3 separate regions of the Homo sapiens genome follow, and regions 2 and 3 are each linked to region 1. Evidence: promoter capture Hi-C in 16 types of primary human blood cells and fetal thymus (Javierre and others, 2016). All regions are on one chromosome and are shown on one strand. The core of a region is centred on a gene start or on the middle of the fragment in contact, and the rest is flanking DNA. Distances in the headings are between cores, read along the strand shown.

What was found. The method cuts DNA at HindIII sites, captures the fragments that hold promoters and counts their contacts. A CHiCAGO score of 5 or more calls a contact.
Region 2: a contact is called between the fragment with the promoter of PSMC4 here and the fragment with the promoter of EIF3K in region 1, in 1 of 17 cell types (fetal thymus). The highest score is 6.8, in fetal thymus.
Region 3: the fragment with the promoter of FBL here is called in contact with the fragment with the promoter of EIF3K in region 1 in 1 of 17 cell types (fetal thymus); the score reaches 5.3 in fetal thymus.

What each region holds. Positions count from the first base shown.
Region 1 is chr19:38,617,938-38,621,726 of GRCh38, forward strand. EIF3K (eukaryotic translation initiation factor 3 subunit K) reads left to right here and starts at 1,251. Exons shown (of 8, transcript NM_013234.4): 1 at 1,251-1,390; 2 at 2,400-2,498. The coding sequence starts at 1,332. It overlaps MAP4K1 (mitogen-activated protein kinase kinase kinase kinase 1), which reads right to left and starts at 16. Exons shown (of 31, transcript NM_001042600.3): 1 at 1-16. RefSeq lists an enhancer at 540-589. The HindIII fragment of the contact is 6,969 bases long and covers 1,019-3,789 here.
Region 2 is chr19:39,969,217-39,973,005 of GRCh38, forward strand. PSMC4 (proteasome 26S subunit, ATPase 4) reads left to right here and starts at 1,949. Exons shown (of 11, transcript NM_006503.4): 1 at 1,949-2,022; 2 at 2,930-3,028; 3 at 3,153-3,339. The coding sequence starts at 1,987. LOC124904720 (a long non-coding RNA gene) reads right to left here and starts at 1,755. Exons shown (of 3, transcript XR_007067260.1): 1 at 1,664-1,755; 2 at 1,138-1,220. RefSeq lists enhancers at 1,269-1,318, 1,819-2,208, 2,233-2,912. The HindIII fragment of the contact is 1,611 bases long and covers 1,265-2,875 here.
Region 3 is chr19:39,844,745-39,848,533 of GRCh38, forward strand. FBL (fibrillarin) reads right to left here and starts at 1,635. Exons shown (of 9, transcript NM_001436.4): 1 at 1,547-1,635. The coding sequence starts at 1,556. RefSeq lists an enhancer at 440-1,180. The HindIII fragment of the contact is 4,240 bases long and covers 1-3,789 here.

The DNA of each region.
Region 1 (3,789 bases), core at 1-2,500:
GCCTCAGGGCTCAACTTCTGGCACCTCCCTCCGTCCCCAGAAGCCCTGCACCCGCCTTGCCTCCGCGGGCTGTGGCCTCCCCCCTCCTCACTCTCGCTTCCTGCCCCAGCTGCACTGCACGACTGTGCAACGGGCTCCACCCCCCCGTCCCCTGGGCTCTGAGAGCCTCTGAGGGGCAGCTTGTCTTGGGACCCAAGGGACCACCCTCAACCTCCAAGGCCCAGGGCTGGATGTAAATGTGATGCAAATGATCTTAATCGTAACTGGGTTGGAGGGGGGTGCCTTAGAACCCCCGCCCCCGTCTCCTAGGTAGTGTCTAAACCTCTGCTGGGTGCTTGAAGGTTTGGCCACAACCCGAAGGCGGCAGGTCTGCAAAGGGATGGCTATGCAGTGTACATGCCTGTTCACCTGTCACATACATGCACTTGGGTTACCTCCTCTGCACTGCGCAGGCGTGTAGACGTGCATCTGCCTGGATACCTGTGTGCACAGTACACACGTGGATGTACCCAGGACATATACCTCCACATGCATGGCACATAACTGCATTTTGTAGGCCTGCAGTGTACAAAACCTATACATAATATATAATTCATGGCAGTACAAATGGGACGCTCGCCCTCAGCTCCAAGACCGGAACCTAATGGAGACGGGGCGCGATCCGGCGAAGTCCAGGAGCCCTCACCCCAGCCCCTGCCCGGCAGAGCACAGTAGCTTTGTGGGACCCTCCTCCTGGAGCTGGGGACCAAGGGCTGAGACTTGAAACTGGAGAGCTCAGGATCCTGCACCAGGCGCCCAGGCCTGTGGCAAGAGGGACCTCAGAACACCTCCCTCGGAACTTGGCCATGGCCTAAACGTAAGGCTGCTGCGTGCATTCCCGCAGAGCTCCGTGGCCTCATGGCCGCGCGCAATACAACGCGCGCGCACGCCGCCAGAGCTCCGGGTGCTTCCCGGTGAGTTCGCGCGCGCACGCTCCCGCGCTACCGGCACTGGAACTGGGTCTGTGAGGCCCGGGAAAAGCTTAGCCCCGCCCCCTCGCCACGAGAGGCGCCTGCGCACTGGGATCCAGTAAGATTTTTCTCACGCTGTCTGTCCAGCTTGAGTGGCGCGAATGCGCACGCGCCAATTGCGCCTGCGAGGAAGAAGTCACGTGGCAGCCGGAAAGCGTGGCGGCTGCTGCTAGAGCCTTTCCCTTTACCGCACCCAAGGAGCTGGAGCGACAACAACGACGTCGTTTCCGTTTCCACCACCTCTTCCTGTTCCCGTCCTTGAGGACGCCGTGCCGGGTCAGTGTTAGCCTCCAGCCCTGGTTGTGGAAGGCGACAGAAGTCATGGCGATGTTTGAGCAGATGAGAGCCAACGTGGGCAAGTTGCTCAAGGGTATCGACAGGTCTGAGCCCGGTTGGAGGAAGCGCTCTGGCCAAGCGGGGCGGAGGAGAGGGTTTTCCGGAGACAGCAAGGGGTGTTCAGGGTCCTGGGCTTGCCGCGGGGTGGGGTTTCTCTATCCTCCTGGAGGAGGAGATGCTTAAAGAAACGGCACTGAGCTGGGGGTAGTGGCTCACGCCTGTGATCCTAGCACTTTGGGAGGCCGAGGTAGGTGGGTCGCCTGAGCCCAGGAGTTAGAGACCAGCCTGGGCAACAGCCAAACCCCGTCTCTAAAAGAAAGAAACAAAAGCACTGCAAAGGCCTAGAAGCGAGAGAATCTTGGTACCACTCAGTCTCTTCGTAAATTGCCTTAAGGTTTCCTTCTCTGCTCCGCCTCCTTTGAGTGCCTCTTAATCTCTCCCTTCTCTGCTCTATAAGTCATTCATTCTCCACACGTTTACTGAAATAAACTGTCAGTGCTAGGCAATGCTGGGAACCACAGGCGAATCAGACAGCGGCAGATCATGCCTTCACGGTCTGAGTTCCCTTTCCATAAGGGAGACAAACCTGACAGCAGACAGCGATAGCCGGGAGAGATTAGAACTGAAATGGGGGAAGCAAAGGCCAGAGTGTTCAGGTGGACATGGAGGAAGTAGGCAGCGAGGTAGGCAGGAGAGGATGGGGCTGGATCAGGGTGGAGGCCTGAACAGGGGAGGAAGGGGTGAGTAGCAGAGACATTCAGGAGGCCAGGTGTACAAGCTGCAGTGACTGACTGGCTCAGAGGTTGAGGAGGCATCCTAGGGAAGAGCCAGGGCTCCAGTGGAGTTTAGAGCTTAGGCGAGAGGTCTGGGATAAGAATAAGTTTTACTAGAGATTATACTGGACATAATTCACTACCTGGATAGAGCAAGTGGCCAGTGCCAGATTTAGAGGGGAAGGGCGGGAGGAGCAGGTTACAGTGGCCCCTTGCTCCATAAGGTGGCTGGCCTCAGCTTCTGTCTCCTCTGTGCTCACCTATCTTGATTCTCCTTTAGGTACAATCCTGAGAACCTGGCCACCCTGGAGCGCTATGTAGAGACGCAGGCCAAGGAAAATGCCTATGATCTGGAAGCCAACCTGGCTGTCCTGAAGCTGTAAGTGTCTAGCTCTCTGTCTACACTCCCATTGCAGCAACTAGCAGGGTGCCACTCCCAGTACAGGGCAAGGGGGTGGCTGGTAGTATCCTGAACAATGCAGCATCTCTTGGTGTGCAAGACTAGGAAGCCAAGGAAGTTGGGACAGGAGGAGGGATGGTTTTTGAAAAATCAATTGCCGGGCGCGGTGACTCACGCCTGTTATCCCAGCACTTTGGGAGGATGAGGCAGGCGGATCACCTGAGGTAGGGAGTTTGAGACCAGCCTGGCCAACACGGAGAAACCCCATCTTTACTAAAAAATACCAAATTAGCCAGGCGTGGTGCCACATGCCTGTAATCCCAGCTACTCGGGAGGCTGAGGCAGGAGAATTGCTTGAACCCAGGAGGCGGAGATTGTGGTGAACCAAGATCGCGCCATTGCACTCCAGCCTGGGCAACAAGACCGAAACTCCGTCTCAAAAATAATAATAAAAAATCAATTAGGGTGGCCGCAGGGGCTCATGCCTGTAATCCCAGCACTTTGGGAGGCTGAGGCGAGAGACTCACTTGAGCCAAAGAGTTCGAGACCATCCATGGCAACATAGCGAGACCCAACCCTACGAAAAAATTTAAAAATTAATGTAGCGGTGTGTGGCTGTAGTTCCAGCTACTTGAGAGGCTGAGGTGGAAGGATCGCTTAAGCCTGGAAGATTAAGGTGCAGTGAGCCATGATAGTGCCACTGCACTCCAGCCTGGGGGACAGAGTGAGACCCCTCTTTTTAAAAAAAAAAAAAAAAAAAAGAATTACCAATTTGGGTGACATGGCACAACCCTGTCTCTACAAAAATTAGCTGGGCCCAGTGGCGCATGGCTGTAGTCCCAGCTCCTTGGGAGGCTGAGGCAGGAGAATTTTTTGAGCCTGGGAGGCAGAGGTTGCAGTGAGCCAAGATCATACCACTGCACTCCAGCTTGGGCGACAGAGTGAGACCCTGTCTCAAAAATAAATAAAGGTTAATTACAGAACACATGTACAGGCTAATACATTAAGCAAACATGTAGTTTAACAAATCATTATAAATGAAAGCCTACATAATCACCATTTATGTTGCAAAGTTATTGCTAGCACCACAGGCTCTTTGCCCCCTATGCTCTATGCCAACCAATTCCCCTGCTCCCCCATGCTCTCATGGCCTGGCTTTATGTGATGGTTTACTATGCATGCATACATCTGGCTCAGCTCAGCTCAGGTTTCCCTGCTTTGAACTTGATACAGATGGAGTGCATACAGCACAAACTCTTCTGCATTTGCC
Region 2 (3,789 bases), core at 699-3,198, 1.4 Mb after region 1:
ACTGGAAAATATCCAGTCTGAGGTATAGGGCATAGTCATAAAATGGAAACCATCCAGAATGAAAATGAAAGAACTATTTCTACACACGGTATGCATGAATCTCACAAAAACAACATTAACTAAAAGAAACCAAACACAGTACACAGAGTACTGGTCTAGAGAGAAGGAGAATTCAAAACAAACAAAAGTAACCCAGCTGTTACAAGTCAGGGCGAGTCCAGCCAGGCACAGTGGCTCATGTCTGTAATCCCAGCACTTTGGAAGGCTGAAGTGGGAGGATCATCTGAGTCCAGGAGTTCGTGACCAGCCTGGGCAACACAGCGAAACCCTATCTCTACAAAAAACATTTTAAAATTAGCAAGGCGTGGTGGCACACGCCTGTAGTTCCAGGTGCTTGGGAAGCTGAGGTATAGGATTGCTTGAGTCTGGGAGGTTGAACCTGGAGTGAGTAGTGATCTCACCACTGCACTCCAGCCTGGGCAACAGAGCAAGAATCTCTTTCAAAAGATATATTTTTAAAGGCTACATGGGGTGGGTCATGCCTGTAATCCCAGTGCTTTCAGAGGCTGAGGAGAGAGGATAGCTTGAGGCCAGCAGTTGGAGACTCTAGTGAGCTATGATCGTGCCACTGCACTCCAGCCTGGGCGACAGAGACTCTAGCTCTTAAAAAAAAAAGAAAAAAACAGATGAATGATAACCTTTAGAAGGGATCGGGAGGCCGGATGTGGTGGCTCACGCCTATAATCCCAGCACTTTGGGAGGCCAAGGCAGGCAGATCACTTGAGGTCAGGAGTTTGTGACCGGCCTGGCCAACATGGTGAAACCCTGTCTCTACTAAAAATACAAATATTAGCCTGGGCAACAGAGTGAGACTCCGTCTCGGGGCGGGGAGTGGAGGGGGGAGAAGAAGGGATGGGGGAAAGGGGAGCACATGAGGCTTCTACTGTTTGGTTTTGCGATCTGGATTCAGGTTGTATGGGCATGTTCACTTTGTGTAATTTTGTCGAGCTGTAATGATTTGTGCTCTTCTCTTTATTTAACTTCAATAAAAGGTTTACTTAACAAAAATTGTAGCTGGTGTGAAGGGTAGCAGTGTTTCCCTGGGGCCAAGAGTACAGGCTTTGGGGACAGACAGACCTGGGTCCCAATCTATGCTTTGTCCCTTCGGCACATTGTTGACTGTGGCTGGTGGCTTCGTGGCTCTGAGCTTGTCTCCTTCTCTATAAATGAGGAAACATAATACTTGCGACGATGATGCCTGTAAAGCTTAAGCGCAGGACCTGGCATAGATCTGTAAGGCGGAAACCTGGGATACAGAACTAAGGTCTATGGATCTCCTGTGCTACCCAACTTCTGGGCACTCGCTGCCTCCTTTTCCCCAGCCCAGACGCGTGGGTTCTACTCGATTGGTTGCTCACTGCGGGCTCGGGGCTCCTCAATCCCGGGGTAAAGCCCAGTATGAAATGTCACCTTCAGGGGCAGCTCGGATCTTCCCACGCCCGCGCGGCGCACAATCTTTGGATCAGCGCCACGTGGAGACCTTACCCGCCCGTACGATCAATCCCTTCTGTGGAACCCAGCTCAAGGACCCTCCAGCCCAGACACTAGAAAGCGAAGAGCAGTTGGCCGCCAGACTGTCCGTGCCAGAGCTCTGCGAACTTACTCCGTTGAAAGAGCAACGGGGCTGCGCCACCTCCCGGAGAGAACCCCCAGCCCTCCACGGCAGGGCGAGATGGCGCCACCGCGTGATACTGCGCACGCCCACAGCTCCCGTCCCGCCCTCGCGCCTGCGGGTACGGACAGCGCATGAGCTTATGTTGAGGGCGGAGCCCAGACCAGCCCTTCGTCCTATCCTGCCCTTCCAGCACCTCTCAGCCGTAACTTAAACTACACTTCCCAGAAGCCTCCTCAGCCAGGGACTTCCGTTGTCGTCAGCGGAAGCGGTGACAGATCATCCCAGGCCACACAGAGGCCGGCTTGGTCACTATGGAGGAGATAGGCATCTTGGTGGAGAAGGCTCAGGTACAGTGGGGACTTGGGCTTTTTAGTCCGGGCCGGGCTCGCGGGGAGAGGGTGAAGCCAGACCTGAGTGGGGGGAGGAATGGCTTCCAGGACCCCGGCCCAGGTTGGGGTTATTTTAGAGGCCTCGGTGGAGAGCTTTGTGCCATTCGAAGGCCTGTCTGGGTGGCCGAGTGATGGTAGGAGGTAAGGCTCAGAAAGCGGGGCTGGGGGAGTGAGTGACGTTAGTGGGTCTTTGAGACGGATTGATTTCGAACCCTGGCCGGTAGTGCTTAGTGAGGTCGGTGGCCCGGCGTTGGGATTGGGTCAGGCGGTGAGTGATATATGGGATCCCGCCGTGCGGCCGAGTGATCCCCGGGTCTGGGCTGCGGGGCTGACTGATGTTCAGGGCTTTGCTGATGGGGGTAATGGGGCGGGTAGTTAAGTATTATCTGTGGCTTGCCTGAGTGATATTTAGGTCTAAGGTGAGTTAGGAGACTGTGACATAAGGGATCTTTGAGGGGAAACTGGGGAATGTTGGGACTCGTTGAAGGCGCAGTCACTTTAACAGCCTATCTAGGAGAGCCATGTGACATTAGGAACCTCTTGAAGGGGATTGGGTGGCATTTGGGTCTGATAAGGAGTTGATGTGACGTTTAGATCCTAGTTGGGGGTTGTGTGACACTGGGGACATGTTATGAGTGGTATATGATAACATAAGATCTGTTTGAGGGGCAAGTTGACATAAAGAGCTTGTTTAGGTGGCCAAAAGGTTTCCAGGATCTATTTAGAGGGTCTTAAGATATCAGGGGTCTGTTAGGGGCTAAGTGACATCAGGGTGAAGTGGGGAGGGGAACAAACATTAGTGAAGTTGGGAAGCTTTCATGAGAGGACTGTCTTCTTCCAATGTGAGTTATCCCCTTTCGTCTAGGATGAGATCCCAGCACTGTCCGTGTCCCGGCCCCAGACCGGCCTGTCCTTCCTGGGCCCTGAGCCTGAGGACCTGGAGGACCTGTACAGCCGCTACAAGGTACATTCGACCCCCAACCCAGACCTTGCACAGGACCTGACATCTCATACTCTTCCCCACTTTCCACCACTCTCTGGATCAGCAAGTCTGGAGCCATCCCCTTCTGTCCCCTCTCTGCTCGCAGAAGCTGCAGCAAGAGCTGGAGTTCCTGGAGGTGCAGGAGGAATACATCAAAGATGAGCAAAAGAACCTGAAAAAGGAATTTCTCCATGCCCAGGAGGAGGTGAAGCGAATCCAAAGCATCCCGCTGGTCATCGGACAATTTCTGGAGGCTGTGGATCAGAATACAGCCATCGTGGGCTCTACCACAGGTGTGCTAAGGACACCTCATTCATTCATCTGTCCACTTAACAACTATTTCCTACCATGTGCTAGGCAGCAGCAAACAAGGCAGGGCAGTGCAGTGCAATGTTCTTCAGAGTATTTTGACTGATCGAAAGGTAGAAATACATACATATATATATATATACACATATATATATGTATATCTATGTTTTTTTTGTTTGTTTGTTTTTTGTTTTGAGACAGAGTTTTGCTCTTGTCCAGGCTGGAGTGCAATGGCATGATCTCGGCTCACTGCAACCTCCACCTCCCAGGTTCACACGATTCTCCTGTCTCAGCCTCCCAAGTAGCTGGGATTACAGGCATGGACCACCAAGTCTGGCTAATTTTTGTATTATTAGTAGAGACAGGGTTTCACCATGTTGGCCAGTCTGGTCTTGAACTCCTGACCTCAGGCGATCCACCCGCCTCACCCTCCG
Region 3 (3,789 bases), core at 385-2,884, 1.2 Mb after region 1:
TGCCACCCTGAGGTCTTTCACACATCGAAGCAAAAAGAATCCCTTTTAAAAATGTCAGACTGCACCACGCCCCTGCTCAAAAATCTCCCAAAGGGTTCTTTTCTCACTCAGGCTAAAATCCTTACTAAAGAGCTAACACCTGACAACTTTTACAACTTCACATTCTACCACACATGGAGGAAGGTTGGAAGAACGGGTATCCTCCATTTATGAGGGAATCACAGACCAGAATGCCTGCAGGCAAGCCAGGATCTCAGCATACCTGGCCTACAATCCCCCACCCCACTTCATCAAGAGATCCCCAAACACGGAAGAGAAAGGGAACTTGGGAGAAGGGCACAGATCCACAAATCTCCTGCCAGGTGACCCCCATCTCTCCACACAAACACACACACAAAAGAAAAAGAAAGCCTGTACTAGGAAAACAGACCCTTTGGGCCATGGTGGAAATTCTCCAAACTCAATGAAGCAAGTTCTCACACAGATGAGTGCGGGTTGGGCAGGCCAGATGGAGGAAGTGCTCAGGCACCACCGAGAAGGATTCTAATGTTGTTCTCTTTGAGAAAGATAAAGGTAACAATTAGAGCTAATACTATTATATGTCAAGCACTGTGCTATTTTTTTTAACGTCGCTTAATCCTAACTGGCGCCATTTTATTGATGAGAAAACAGAGGCTCAGAGAGGTAAAGCCACTTGCCCAAGTTCACACAGCAGGCTAAGAAGCTGAGCAAGAGCTGACACACTGAACTGAGGCCCTTCTGCTGTCAAAGCCAGGACCCCCTCATCATTCCACCATGAAGGGAGTGGTTTCAGCAGAATCTAGTGGAAAATCTTAAGAATAAAACTACTTACCTCCTGTGACAACCACCCGCCCCACCACCCCAGACTAATGCCGAGCTTGTTAAGTCTCGTCCCGGAGGTGGAAATCTTAATCCCCAAATCTCCACTCCATCCCCGGGGATCCGCCCCACTGTAAGTGCAGAAGGCGGGAAAGTGAGCCGAAGAGCGCCGCACACGGCCAACCGGGGAGTCCTCATCCACTCCGGCCCACTCGGAAAAGCTGGGATGCGGGATAAGGGGATGGTGGTGGTGGCAGCGACAGGGAAGGCAAATGGGGGCTTCCCACACACAGCTCCAGGACCCAAGGTCAGGAACTCTCCATCTCCGACCCAAGCCTGATTCCCAAAACACGCCCAGCGATCCAAGACTCCAGATGCCTGAATCCAAACTCTAGCCCAAGACCCTTGAGTGCCGCCTCCTGCCCAATATCCAAAATCCCTATTAGACGGCCTCAATGAGACGAACCCCACGTCAACACCCCCAATGCCAGGCCCACGGCCTTCTTCGACTCACGACCGTGACCTCTGAAGCCAGTCACAAACCCCTAGACCTGCTGGAATCAGAATCCCCCTTCCCACAGGAGACTGGAACCCGTGCTCAGAACCCCTGCCCCCAGGCCAAGGCCCCACCCCTCCGATTCTGGCCTGGCACCCGGATTCCCGCCCGGCCTCCGTCCCTGACCCCGGACCCTCACCCCAGCCTGACCTGGCTTCATGGCGAGCCCTGGTTTGTGCGGCTCCGGAGTCCGCGGCGTTCACAACTCCACGAGTCCGGGGCTTTCGCACGTGGAAAAGAGCGCAGGCGCGCGGCGACGTGCGCTGCGTGACGCCACCCCGTAGTCCCGCCCCCGGGCCCCTTCCCCGCCCGGAGCTCGGCGCACGCGCAGTGAGCCTGGATTCTCGAGCCTGTCGACACGCAACCCGCTGCCCTCGCTCTCTGCCTTCCCAGCCTTTGCCTGTGCAGCGGTCGCCCTAAACTCGCTTCCGGTTTCCTCTTCCCCAATGCGAGCACCCCAATAATCAGGGCTCATAGCCTTCGCACGGGCTGTGCCCTCTTTTGTATTCCTAGCTAAATCCCTCTGGCCCCTGTACACCCAAAAAGGCTTCCCCAATACATTTCCAGCCCCAAGAACAGTGACCGACTCTGGGCTTCCATTCAAACATCCGAAAAACATTTACAGTGCACCTCGTGTGTACCAGGTGCTGTTCTAGGAGCTGGGAATACAGCGGTGTACGAGACATAAAAATCTCCACTCTCCTGGAGTTCATCTTTTTAATGGAGGAAATAGACACCAAACATGTTGAATGTTTGAAAGCGATAAGTGCTTTGGAGAAAATAACAGCAGGGAAAGGGGATAGAGATTTTGGAGGGCAAATGATTTTTGTTTTTTTGGCACGGTGGTCAAGGAATGCATCAGGAGACTTTTGAGCTAAAGGGCTGAAGGAAGTGAGGAGTGAGGCATGCACCTATCTAGGGGAAGAGAGTTCCAGGCAGGGAAAAGATCTGCAGATGCAGAGGCCCTGAGGAAGGAAAGATATGGGAAGTTGGAGAGACAATGAGGAGGGTGGGTGGGGCAAAGTGAGCAAGGTGGAGAGTAAGAGGAGATAAGGGCGGGTAGCTAACAAGGGCAGATTGTGCGGAGCTTTGTGGGACATAGTGAGGACTTAGGCAGTAAGATGGAACCATGGAAGGGTTCCAAGCAGAGAAGGAATGTGATCTGACACAGGTCCCTCTGGCTGCATGTGGGAAGCAGACTGCAGGAGTGAGGGTGAAAGCAGGAAAACCAAGGACTGGCTGCTGCCGTGAATCAGAAGAAAAGGATGGACAGATCAGAGTGGGGGCAGAGAGCGGCGTCAGGGGTCAACAGATTCTGCTTAAGTATTAAGAATTTTGGGCTTTGTAATTGTGTAATATCAGTATCCATCCCTATATTCATTCTGCAAAGCAAGACAACTGCTGTTATGAGAAGTTACCGAAAAACTCCAGAAGAACCTACCAGTCCAGAGCCTAGATGTTGACTCTGTTCCATTCACTGCTCTATCACTCTAGGCCTAGGACAGCCCTCTGGGTGCCCAGTAAATGTTTGTTGAATGAATGGATGGCCTCATACCGTTGTGAGTTCTCTGTGTACAGTGTTCCAGCTGTGGAATGCCACCAATTTGCACAGAAACATTCCTGAAAGATTGTTTAGATATTATGATGGAAAATCTGCTTAAACTTTTCAGAACCGGTCGGGGCAGTGGCTCACACCTGTAATCCAGGCACTTTGGGAGGCCGAGGCAGGAGGATCGCTTGAGCCCAGGAGCTTAAGGCCAGCCTGGGCTACAGAGTGAGACCTTATCTTTACAAAAAATAAAAAATTAGCTGGGTATGGTTGCTTGCACCTGTAGTCCCAGCTACTCAAGAGGCTGAGGCAGGAGGATCCTTTGAGCCCAGTAGGTCTAGGCTGAAATGAGCCATGACTGCACCACTACACTCCAGCCTGGGTCACAGAGCGACACCCCTGTCCCAAAACAAAAACAAAAACCAAACAAAAAAAACTTTTTAAAAACTATGAGATGAAATAGTTGAGTCTATTCTGGATTTCTAGATGTGCAATGATTCCAGTGGGTCCAATTCCGGATAATGTTACCTATTTCACATGGATTTTACTATTTGCCTTCTAATTAATATTTTTCTTCTAAAGGACAAAAGTACTCAGAGTGCAGTGCAGATTTAGGGGATTCCAGCCCTATTTCTTGGAATCCTGGCACCATCTCCTGCTTCTGAGATACTTTGCCTGCTAGCTTGCTCTGAAGACCTGAAATTGGCTCTATCGGTAAGTAATTAGTGGTGGAGGTGCCTGTTGGTCTTGTGCTGGGGACACAATGGTGGCTAAAACAGCCCCGGGTCCTGTCCTCCTGGAGCTGCCAGTCCAATAGGAGAGACAGACAGGTTCCCAAACAGTG